2 separate regions of the Homo sapiens genome follow, and region 2 is linked to region 1. Evidence: promoter capture Hi-C in human tissues and cell types (Jung and others, 2019). All regions are on one chromosome and are shown on one strand. The core of a region is centred on a gene start or on the middle of the fragment in contact, and the rest is flanking DNA. Distances in the headings are between cores, read along the strand shown. Region 1 holds the start of ADNP2 (ADNP homeobox 2). Region 2 overlaps SLC66A2 (solute carrier family 66 member 2).

Region 1 (5,528 bases), core at 1,531-4,030:
AATTTCAATTCAAAATAAATCTCAATTCCTAATGTTTAGGGTAGGCATGGAACTACCATAAAATTCCACTGATATGCACAAGAAAATATTATTTCCCAAAAGGGTACATAAAGGACTTCTCTGGGGATTTTTTAGTATAATGATCTCGTAAGGATATTCTATTATAGAAAAAAAAATACATTCTAAAAGAAAATGTTGGCCGGGTGCAACGGCTCACACCTGTAATCCCAGCACTTTGGAAGGCTAAGGCGGGCAGATCACCTGAGGTCAGGAGTTGGAGACCAGCCTGACCAATATGGTGAAACCCTGTCTCTACTAAAAATTACCAAAAAATTGGCTGGGTCCTACTCGGGACGCTGAGGCAGGAGAATCGCTTGAACCCGGGAGACAGAGGTTGCAGTGAGCCGAGATCACACCACTGCACTCCAGCCTGGGCGACAGGGCAAAACTCCGTCTCAAAAAAAAAAAAAAAAAATGTCATTCAGGTAATACAGTAATAAACAATACTTTTTAAGCCACAGAACTTTTTTTTAGTTCCTGTGAAATCGCACAAAACGATGGTCACCAAAAAGGATTCTGGAGTTGTGTGCCCGGGTTTACATCAGCTCCACCATTTATGAGCTGTGTAATCTTCAGGAAATCACTTACTCTCTCCAGGCCTCAGCTGGCTCTTCTGTAAAACAGGGCGAGTATGACCTAATTCACAGAGTAGTTATGAGGATAAATGAGTTAATACATGCAAAACAGCACATAAGCACTGAGTTTGCTATTAATTAACTCCAAAAAACTAAATGAAATGTCCCAACTATTGGAATACAGGACTTTTTAAAAAGCAACTTTAAAAACACAGAATACTTGGATCATATATTCAGCAGATCTGGGTTCAAATCACTGGGAGATACCGGTTTCCACCTATGTAACACATTGCCCTAACAGGTCTAGGATAGCCAGAGGATGAAGGGCAGGGCAGAAACCAAGTTTGCAATATGCTATTGGTGAACTTATGAGGGCAATCATAAATTAACCAACAGCATATTGCAAACTTGGGTTCAAATTAAAAACGTGTCTCCCAAATCCCAGAATCTCTTCAGCTAAAAATCTTAGCATAGCTGTCATCTTCCCCCATAAACAGTGATCAACTCCTTTCAGACATGTCCTAACCCTCACTGTTCCTCCCCTCAACTAGAGGGCCGGTAGGACAACCTCTTGTCTCATCTTCACTCTTGTACTTCCTTTCTTAACACACATCTGTCACTTCATGTTTAAGGACGACGGGCTCAATGCTGTCTTCGCAGTGAAGTCCTAACTCCAACCGAAATTTAACCGAAATATTAATACACACTCATACATGGCCAACTCTCCAAGAACATCTTTAAATAAGTTACACATACATTACCGACTTCCAAATACAGCTGAACATGTACTTTACACAACTCTTTTTACATGTGGTCCTCTCTCCCACTAATGCTCCTCACCCCCAAAAATGGTACCCAGACTCCAAACCCCCTCTTTTGATAAAGGCTCTGCGTGGCAGATGCCCACAGTACTCTACAAACTGCTGCCCCACTTGCCAATCTGCATTGTCAGTTACCTGCTTACCAGTTTCTCCTCCCCCACCCCACTCCTCCACAGCCAGTATATTCCTCAAGATCCCAAGAGGCAGTGATTACCCGTGCAAATAGAGTAAGTTTTAAGCACGCAGGCAAGTCTTCTGTTCAAATAAACTACTTAAAATATCTAATTATTTCTCATTCTGCATCTGTACAGTATTTAAAAGGGCAGTTAAAATTAACATTCCAAAGTCAACTGTAGTAGAAATTTTGTAAACGGAATCTATTTCAATGCAACCAGCAACGGCAGATGAAAAGTAATGTTAAAGTCAACATCTGTATATCAATTATTGATATTCGCATCAAAAGCTCAACGATGAAGAAACAGGGCCCCGTTATCAGCTGTTCTTCAAACCTTTCTAGGGAAAAAAAAACCTGGGCAGATTTAGGTGTCACCGTCAGCTCCTGACCTACATCTGCCGTCACTCAAGGCTCCTCCAGAGAGAAGCTTCCAGGAGAACCCGGTCTCGGGGATGCGGCGGGCGGGCCAGCGGGCGGGGCGTTTCTGGAGTCCTTACAGGGGTCGCCACAGCTCCTTGCCCCCTCTCTTCTTCTCCATCCCCGTTCCCTCTCCCTCTACTCCTCGCTCCCTTCACCAGCCCCCCTCTCTCCCTCGGTCCCCGTCCTCGTCTTTCCCCTATTCCTACTCTCCCCTCAGGTCCCCATCCCCTTCTCCGCCCTCCCGGGGCGGCCCCCGCTCCCACGTGACCGGCGGCGGGCGGGGCGGGCCGCGGGCGCGTCGGGGGTCGACGGGCGCCGTTCGGGCCGCGAACCCGCGCCCTGAGAACGTCCCGGGATTCCCGAGGCGGCCACGGGCGGCGCGAGGGCAGGCGGCGGGCGTGGGTGTGGGCTGGGTACCGGCGGGGGCGGGGCTCGGAGGGGACCAGACTGGGGCGGGGGCCAGGACCGGGGCAGGGGGCGTCGCCGCGCGGGCCCGCGCCGGGCCGGGCCGTACCTACCGCTTGGCGCCCGAGGAGCACCGCGTCTCCGCTGCTGCCTCTCGCAGGGCTGCCGCGTCTTCCGCCGAGCGCAGCCGCGTCCCGTGGGGCCGCCTGCGCCCGCCCGCGCCTCCGCCCCGCGCGGCGGGACCCCCGCCTCAGCGCGCGCCCACCCCCAGCGCGACTGGTCCCCTCCTCCCGCGCAGCCAGAAAGAGAAAATGGCGCTCGATTGGCCTCAGGAAGTGACGTTGGCCCTCATTTGCATGTAGGCGCAGCCAGCCAATGAGAGCAGAGTGTGCTTGGGGGCCCCTGGCACTTCCCACAGGCCCCCCGGGGCCCCTGGCTAAAGATGGACTGGAGGCTCTGGGGTGGCAGTGGGGGGCCCCTGTTGGACCCCCTGACTCCCTTCTGTCCCAGGGAACTGCCCTGCCAGCTCCTTTCCACATCTGTGCAAACTCTCGTGAGAGTTTGAGTGGGCAATGACGTCACTAAAGGGGTGGGGAGAGTGTGTCATCAACCATGTGACTAATCACGTGGACTCACCACAGCTTTGACTTCATTTGCATGGAATGGGGTGGAGCTAGTGGCAGCTCCAGGAGTGGTGACCCCGCCCACATCTCAGAGCCAATGGGAGCCCAACTGTGATAATGCTGCCTTGCCATTGGAAGACAAAACTTTGGCTCCCAGAACTGGGACAAGTGTGCCATGATTGGCATATCCTGGTGAACCGACTAGCTGGGGTCTCCTGACTTCATCATTCCTGTGGGAAAGTGATCACACCTTCTCTTGAGAATTCTGATTTTTAGATCTACTACAAGTTGTGTGGGGAGAGGGTTAATTGCATACATTTGTATAAACTCTTAACCTAAAAGTTCATTTTTGCACAGGTGTTTATCAATTGTGTAGCAATAATAATTTATTCCACAAAATTAGTGGAAACATGGCGTAGGGCTTTCAAAATGGCTCTAGGTCTTCGTTCCGTGGAGTCCCCAGGCCTCTGGCGGACGCCCTCGTGCCCCAGAGCACGTGGGAGTAACCACGAGGGCAGCGCAGGCGCCTCCCCCAGTGCCCCTAACCTTAACCCTAATTCTGACCCTGCACCTGAACCTCACCTAGCACTAACCCTGACTCTGACCCTAACTCCCCTCCAGTGTTCCTTCCCCTGACCCTAACTCAGCCGCGCCCTCAGTGGCTGTTCCAGGCAGTTCCTTCTTGGCGAAGCCGTCTGCAGGACACGTGCCCCTTTCAGCACAAGGCCACGTCTCCTTCCAGAGCGCCGAGCCCCTGCAACCCGCCGCCAGCCTCCAGCCCTGAGGCCCACTCCAGCCACCGCGGGGCAGAGGCCGTGCCCAGGCTGGGCCTTCCGCCCACCGCCCTCTCCAGAGCCTCCTTGTCACCATCCGCTCGTCCATAATTTCAGCTTTTCCCTCTCAATGGGAGCCTTCTGCTCAGTTTAGCCCAGTGACTAAACACATAATAGGCACTAAATTAATGTCCATATTCGTTTTAAAACTGTGTTAAATGGTGGGCCGATATGACCTGACCAAAATTTGCTTTTTTCCTACATGAATACAAGTCATAATTGAAGTAGAGTTTGCCCTTTATGTTTGCTGACAAGTTAAGATTTTACTTTGAGTTACAGTGGTAAATGGGTGTGATGTCCCTATATATCTTCCTTGCAAAATTATGGGTGGGATGAAAAGTGTAGTTAAAGCCTGCAGTCTCCCATTGATCCTCTAGTGACCTCTCATTTTATCACATTTCTCAAAACAGCAGTCCCTGTGTCTGTCTCCTCAGCCCCCTGCACGCCTCTCGCCCCCACCCTCACCACTCTGCAGAAACGCCTTGGTCACCAGCGCCCTCCTAATTGCTGAGCCCAAAACAGATTTTAGGCCTCGTCTTTCTGTATCTATCTTCCATTTGTTACTACAGACCAATCCCCCTTTCCTACAGACCTCCCGCAACAAAGCCGCCCCACCACCACTACTCCTCAAACGGGCTCTTTAATCTCCAAACTCGGGAACTGTTTCCTAATCTACAGACCTCCCCCCACAAAGCCGCCCCCCCCCACACCCACTACTCCCCAGACGGGCTCTTTCATCTCCATATTCACGAACTGTTTCCTCATCTTCGCCTGCATCTCTTCCCGGCCCATCCTTGAACGCGGTGTTCTCTGGGATCCTGCTGACTTTTTCCTTCACGGTGCAGCACATATGCGCCACTCGCTTCCTGTGTGCCAGGCACCGTGCTGGGTATTGGAACTCCCACGCCTTTCATTTTTTTCTGCATTTTCTCCCTTGTTAATTTCGACCACAGATTCAAACCTTGTTATGTCAATTCCAAACCAGTATCTCCATCTCTTTCCTACGTTTCAGTTTTATTTTTCTGGCTGCCAAAGGGGGCAGCTCCACTTCAGAGTCCCACAGGCAACTCAGATTCAAAACGTTCAAATCTGAGCCCATCATTCTCTCCTCAACAGCCTCTCCTACAGCAAGCAGTGTGTTCCCCATCTCCAGTTTTCCAATTTTATATCCCAAATATTCGTCAGATCTCTTCCCTCATCTGCAGCCGCACTATCACTACCTGCATTCAGGTCATCTCCTGCCTGTAACACCTGCACAGGCTCCCACCACCTTACCTCCAGCTTGGTGCCTCAGGTACTTTCCCCAGTCAGCCCTTTTAGAGAGTGAACCTGACTGTCCTTCCCTTCTTGCTGCAATCACTCAAAATCCCCCAGGAATCAAGCCCAGCTGGTGAGCACGACACACAAATTCTCCAAAGCTGACCAGTCAGTCCCCAGCCTGTAAACACCACACGGTGTTTGTTCATGGGACTCCTGTCCCAACCCCTGAGCTAATTTTCATTCCATTGCCATTCAAGGCTGAACTCTACCGGCCTCTCTCCCAGAAAGATCTCCCTGAACACACACACACACACACACACACACACACACACAGTCAAAATATGGTAGGTACTTCT
Region 2 (5,528 bases), core at 1,952-4,451, 190 kb after region 1:
GTGGTGGTAGGGGGTGAGATGTAGGTGCAGGCCAGGGTTATAGGTGTGGGTTGCAGTTACAGGTGTGTGGCGTAGGTGTGGGTGTGGGACATAGGCACAGATGTGAAGTGTAGGTGTGGGCTGGGGTGTGGGGTATGGAGTTCCGGTGTGGGCTGTAGGTAGAGGTGTGGGGCATGGGTCAGGTGTGGGGTGCTGGCATGGTGTGAGGTAGGTACAGGTTGGGGTGTGGTGTGGGGTGCAGGTGGGGATTGGGCTGCCCTGGTTGGTGTGATTACAGTGAATCAAGACCAGGGGGGTTGCTGGGGTTTCTCGGGCGAGGGTGCATGGAGGCCCGAGAGGGTGTCCATGGCTGGAACAGGCTCCCTCACTGTTGGGTTGGGCAGTGGCAGCCCTGAGGGCTTCGGTGTGGAGCCCAAAAGGCAGGGATGCTCCCAGAGAGAAAGTGGGTCTCAGGGCGGGCGTCGTATGTAGGCTCCCCGGCTGGACGTGGGCCTTGTCCGGCGGAGTGTGGCGTCCCCAGCCACCCCACAGCTGGAGATCCTGTGGGCAGTGCCCGCGTGCCGAGCTTGCGACCTGGAGATCTGTGGGAGGTGCCTGGGTGCCAGGCCTGTGCCCTCCAGAGCATCACCACAGCCTCGTGGTGAGGGTCTAGCGGATCCGGACCCCACATGCCGGCCTCCTGGCCCCTCACAAGGAGCTGGCCGTGTGTGACCTCACAGGGGCCCCAGGCTTGGCAGGAGCTGTTGCTCTCGATTCCAGGGTAGCAGGTTTTGCTGTTCAGCGCAGGCATGTTGTTCAAGGTCTCAGCCCAGGGGCTGCCCCGTCAGCTGGGGGGACGTGGGAATCCTCTTCAAACCCGAGTTTCCAGATGCTGGCCGAGGCGGCCCTGCAGGCAGGCCTGTCTTAGGCCCTGAGGTCTGCTCTTCTCACACACGGGGAAGGCTCCAGAAACGCCTGTGGAAGGGGGGTCTGTGTGTGGAAGAAACACATTGGACGTGCTTTTCCTGTTCTCACTCACTTCACCACAAGCAGCACACACACTTCCATGTGCAGGCGTCTCCCCAGCACCGAGCAGGCAGTCGGTCCTGCGGCGGGCACCGCCGGTTGTCCTGACCCAGAGACAGCGCCAGATGCCACCCACACTTAGACACCCATCGCAAATCTGGGCCTCTGGAACTTCTGGGCCATGTTAGGGTTCCATGACCCCTCCTTGGGCTCTGTCAGCTTGCTGGAGCGGCTCACAGAGCTCTGGGAAACACGGTTGCTGATATTTTACAAAGAGCATTTTAAAGGACAGACATAAACCGCCGAGTGAGGGGATACACAGAGGGAGCTGTGGAGGGGTCCCCAGGCAGGAGCTCGGTCTCGTGGAGTGGGGCTGCCGCCCTCACGGCACACAGATGAGCTCCTGTTCACTCTCCTGCCGGCTCCCGCAAATTCAGCTCTCCCCGGAGCCTCCCAAAGCCTGTCTACTTGGGAGACCTCATTGGATAGGCGTGATGGACAATGGTGTTGAAATGTGATTGGACCTAAGGGTGCGACGTGAACCCAGCAGGGTCTGTTGAGATTCTTCTGTCCTCTGTGCAGGCTCCTTCCTCCAGGATGTCGGCAGGACCCTCTCTGGAATGAGGGTTAGAGTCCTGCCTGGGCAGGTGAACAGAGGGCAAAAGGTCAGAGAGATTCTGTTTTCTGAGGCCTAAAGCACCCCAACGTCATGACAAGAGCTACAGAAGCACTGTGGGTACGGGAGCACCACGGGTACGGGAGCACCACGGGTACGGGAGCACCACGGGTACGGGAGCACTGCGGCTATGAGAGCACCACGGGTACGGGAGTGCCGCAGGTACAAGAGCGCCGCGGGTACGGGAGCACCGTGGGTATGGGAGGGTACGGGAGCACTGCGGGTACGAGAGCGCCGCGGGTACGGGAGCACCGTGGGTATGGGAGGGTACGGGAGCACTGCGGGTATGAGAGCACCGTGGGTACGGGAGCGCTGTGGGTATGGGAGCGCCATGGGTACGGGAGCACCGTGGGTATGGGAGGGTACGGGAGCACTGCGGCTATGAGAGCACCGCGGGTACAGAAGCACTGTGGGAGTTAGCACCCTGGAACCGTGGATGAAAACCCGTGTGTGTGGGATGCGGATACACTTACACACATGTAAAATAGTATTGGGGGTGCTGTGTGGGCGAGATGGGAGCCGGGGTCATGGTCCTTTGCCTGCATACTTCTCCTTGGCTGCGGAACTTGGAACGTGTCTCAGGGATCCCAGGAGGTGCAGGTGTTCTACCTCTGAGTTTGCCCTGCTCCCTGGGTGAGTGCCAAGCCCCTGTGAGATCACCTGGGCTAACTTCTGCTTTTATAAACCTCAGGTGTGGCTGGGGACGGGATGTCACAGGCACCCCATCTCCCCATCGGGCCACAGGAGGCTTGGCCTCTGTCCCTGCCGGGAGGGCCGGGCAGAAGACGGGCGACCCACACAGCTGGCACGTTGTGAGGGCTTGGATGGAGTCCTGAGGCTGAGGGAGATGGAGCAGTCTCTGCGGAGGAAGTAGGCAGCGAGGTCAGCCAGCTTCAAGTGCGGGACCGCTGAGACCCTGTGCATCCTCGTCAGGAACGGGGACCAGGAGCAGCAGCGTCGGGTCGGCTCGGAGTGATGGAGTGTGTGGTTGTAGTTACGGTAATGAGCGCCCCGGAGAGTCTGTGCACTGAGGCCCTGGCCTGGCCCCGGGGGGATGGGGAGGGGACAGGGCGGGCCCTGGGGGGATGCGGAGGGGGTGGGGCTGGCCCCGCCCGTGCTGCCGGGAGCTTCAGCCCTCCCCAGGCCCAGTTCATCCGGTCTGCGCTTTTAAGAGTGACCATCGGGCGGTTTTCCCACTGGAACACATAAGGCGTTTGCTGCTAGAACGCACAGCCAGCCTGACCCCATGCCTGCCAGCCAGGCAAAGTCTGGGGTCTGCTTGTGGGGACGTTGCCTCTGCATGGCCTGAGGGAAGGTTTTGGGAGGGTTCTCACTAAACGGGAAAGGGAACAGGACCACTCCAGGCCCAGCCTTTGTGCCGCACGTCCTTATTTCTGCTGCTCTGACGCCGCGTTTCACCTTGGCCCTGGGTTTTAGTATCACCCGAGTGTGAATTCTGGAGGCCCAGCAGCTGCCTTCCACAACCTGAGACGCCACCTGGCAGCCTGGGCAAGGCAGGGCCTGCAGGGCTAGGGCCGGCGACCTGGGGGCTGTTCCTGAGGCTCCCTCTGGGCAGGGCTGAGTCTGGAGCCGGCTCCACTTGCGCGTCTGAAGCTCCGTCTCTTTGGGCCTGTGGGCCCTGCCCACCTTCCTCCCTTGGCACTGCAGCCTGTGGGGCACAGGGTCCCCACCTCTGCCCCCCTTGCTGTGTGGTCTTCTGGCTTCTCCGCATGGGTCCAGGCCACCGCTCCGTGGATCTTCAGCCCTCCCCGGCCTGGGTTCCACTCGCTCTCCAGACGCAGCTTGGGCAAGGGGGTGTCTCTCCCCTTTGCCACTTCCTGGGTGCTCCTGTGGTACCTGCCTGTTCCTCCGGGGCCACGGCAGCCTTGGGGTGGGCTGGAGTGACCCCCCACTTCCTGCTGTCAGACCACCCCCCATCTGGAGGCAGGTCAGAGACGTCTCAGGTTCCTTTGTGCTCCGATCTGCCTGATGGGGGCGTCGTGGTATCCCCAGCCCTGTCAGGAGTTGTGATTCTTGAAGCCATTGTGGGTAGTGGTTTCTGAATGCAGGTTTGATAGATCATGTGTGCTTCCTGTATAATCTCCAGGGTCGTGTTTAAGATGACGTATTTAAAATGTGCACACACACGTACTTAACAGATACCCAAAAAACCAAGACTTTGGGCTGGGCGCGGTGGCTCACGCCTGTAATCCCAGCACTTTGGGAGGCCAGGGCAGGTGGATCACAAGGTTAGGAGTTCAAGACCAGCCTGGCCAAGATGGTGAAACCCTGTCTCTACTAAAAATGCAAAAATTAGCTAGGTGTGGCAGGCGTCTGTAATCCCAGCTACTCAGGAAGCTGAGGCAGGAGAATCACTTGAACCTGGGGGGCGGAGGTTGCAGTGAGCCAAGATCGCGCCACTGCACTCCAGCCTGGGCAACAGAGTGAGACTCCATGTAAAAAAACAAACAAGACTTTGGTGGCGAATGGTGACATGAGCCTGAAACGTGACAGCCTGAACTTCAGCTCCTTTTCTCTGGGGACCTGCTAGTGCCACTGCCCTAGGTGAGGGAGGCGTAGATGCTGCCTGGAATCTTCCCTGGGACCCACAGCCTCAGCTCCACATTAAACCGAAGGTCTCTAGGATGTTTGATAGGAAGTGACTCAAGAATTCCCGAGTTGATCTCGTAGCAGCCCTGCTTCTGGAAAGTCCTGTGTCTCGTGTACTTGCACACACGTGCACAGGCCGGCATGCACAGTTGCCTCCATGCGCGCGTGCGCGCATGCACACACACACAGCGATGCACACACGGTTTCCACCTGTGAGCAACTGCCGGAGGCATTTTTGAACAGTGACTTCCCTTTAGAAAATACTACGTGGTTGTAGTTTCTGAACCAGTAATGAGATGTGATAAAGCTTCAGAAACAGCTTTGCTAATTAACACAGCAGGCTCCGAAGGGCGGATTTTCTGAGAGTGTTTGCATTCCTCTTCCTCCAGTTTTTACTGGATTTGAAGACTGTTCCCTGACAAGGATTGGAGGGTGAGGTGGGTGTAGATGATGAGGGCAGCGGGGGTGCGTTGGTGTTGACAGATGGGGAGGAGCCTGAAATGCGGAATACAGACACCGTGGCTGTGGAAGAGCCTGGGCAGGTGCCTGTGTGGACCCCGACAGTGTGTGACCACCGTGGCTGAGTGAGGATGGGTGACCAGGCAGGTGTGGCATGGTGCCTGCAGCAGGTGAAGCTGAGGCTCAGGCCGCCCCGCAAGGAGAGGATTTCAACTACGTCAGTCCTCACCCCTTGGGGCTGCCCCTGTCCAGCCAGGACATGGGCTGGATCCAGAAGCCGAGCTCTTACCCAAACTCTAGAGCAGGCTGTGTGGGTCCTCAGCCTCTGGGCATGTGGCATGTCTCCCCTGGGGCCACGTCTTCATGACACTCAGAACCCCCCCTCACCCACTGTGCCTTTCCTTATGCCTTTGATGCAGAGCAGGCCCCTGTGGTTCTGAGTGGAGTGAGTGCTGCACAGGATGCCTGGGTTAACAGGAAGCAAGCTCGGTGCACGCAGGCTGGCCCATGTGACAGGAGGGTTCAGCGGAGGCTCTGGAACATTACAAAGTGTGACCCGCCTGAGATGTGACTCACATCACAGCATACTCACGGGGCTGCCAAGCCAGCACCACGGTCTAATTCCAGAACATTTTCCGCACCCCAGGAAGCAACCCCGCGGCCACTGGCAGTCATTCCCACCGCCCCAGCCTCCTCACCCCCGCTGCCACTCCTCCACTTCCCATCTCCATGGGCTTGCCTTTCAGGACACATCACATCAGTGGTGCCTGATGACACG

The links. The method cuts DNA at HindIII sites, captures the fragments that hold promoters and counts their contacts. A contact is called where the count stands out against the background at its distance.
Region 2: a fragment that was not itself captured here is called in contact with the fragment with the promoter of ADNP2 in region 1 in 2 of the 25 tissues and cell types used here (dorsolateral prefrontal cortex and lymphoblastoid cells).

The regions. Positions count from the first base shown.
Region 1 is chr18:80,106,514-80,112,041 of GRCh38, reverse strand. It overlaps ADNP2 (ADNP homeobox 2), which reads right to left and starts at 2,780. Exons shown (of 4, transcript NM_014913.4): 1 at 2,570-2,780. RefSeq lists silencers at 2,259-2,358, 2,559-2,718 and enhancers at 2,528-3,029, 3,856-4,357. The HindIII fragment of the contact is 8,526 bases long and covers 481-5,528 here.
Region 2 is chr18:79,912,539-79,918,066 of GRCh38, reverse strand. The region is part of intron 5 of SLC66A2 (solute carrier family 66 member 2); the gene reads left to right. Among named protein-coding and RNA genes, the nearest start is that of SLC66A2, 36 kb to the left of the region's middle. RefSeq lists an enhancer at 4,779-5,528. The HindIII fragment of the contact is 9,290 bases long and covers 1-5,528 here.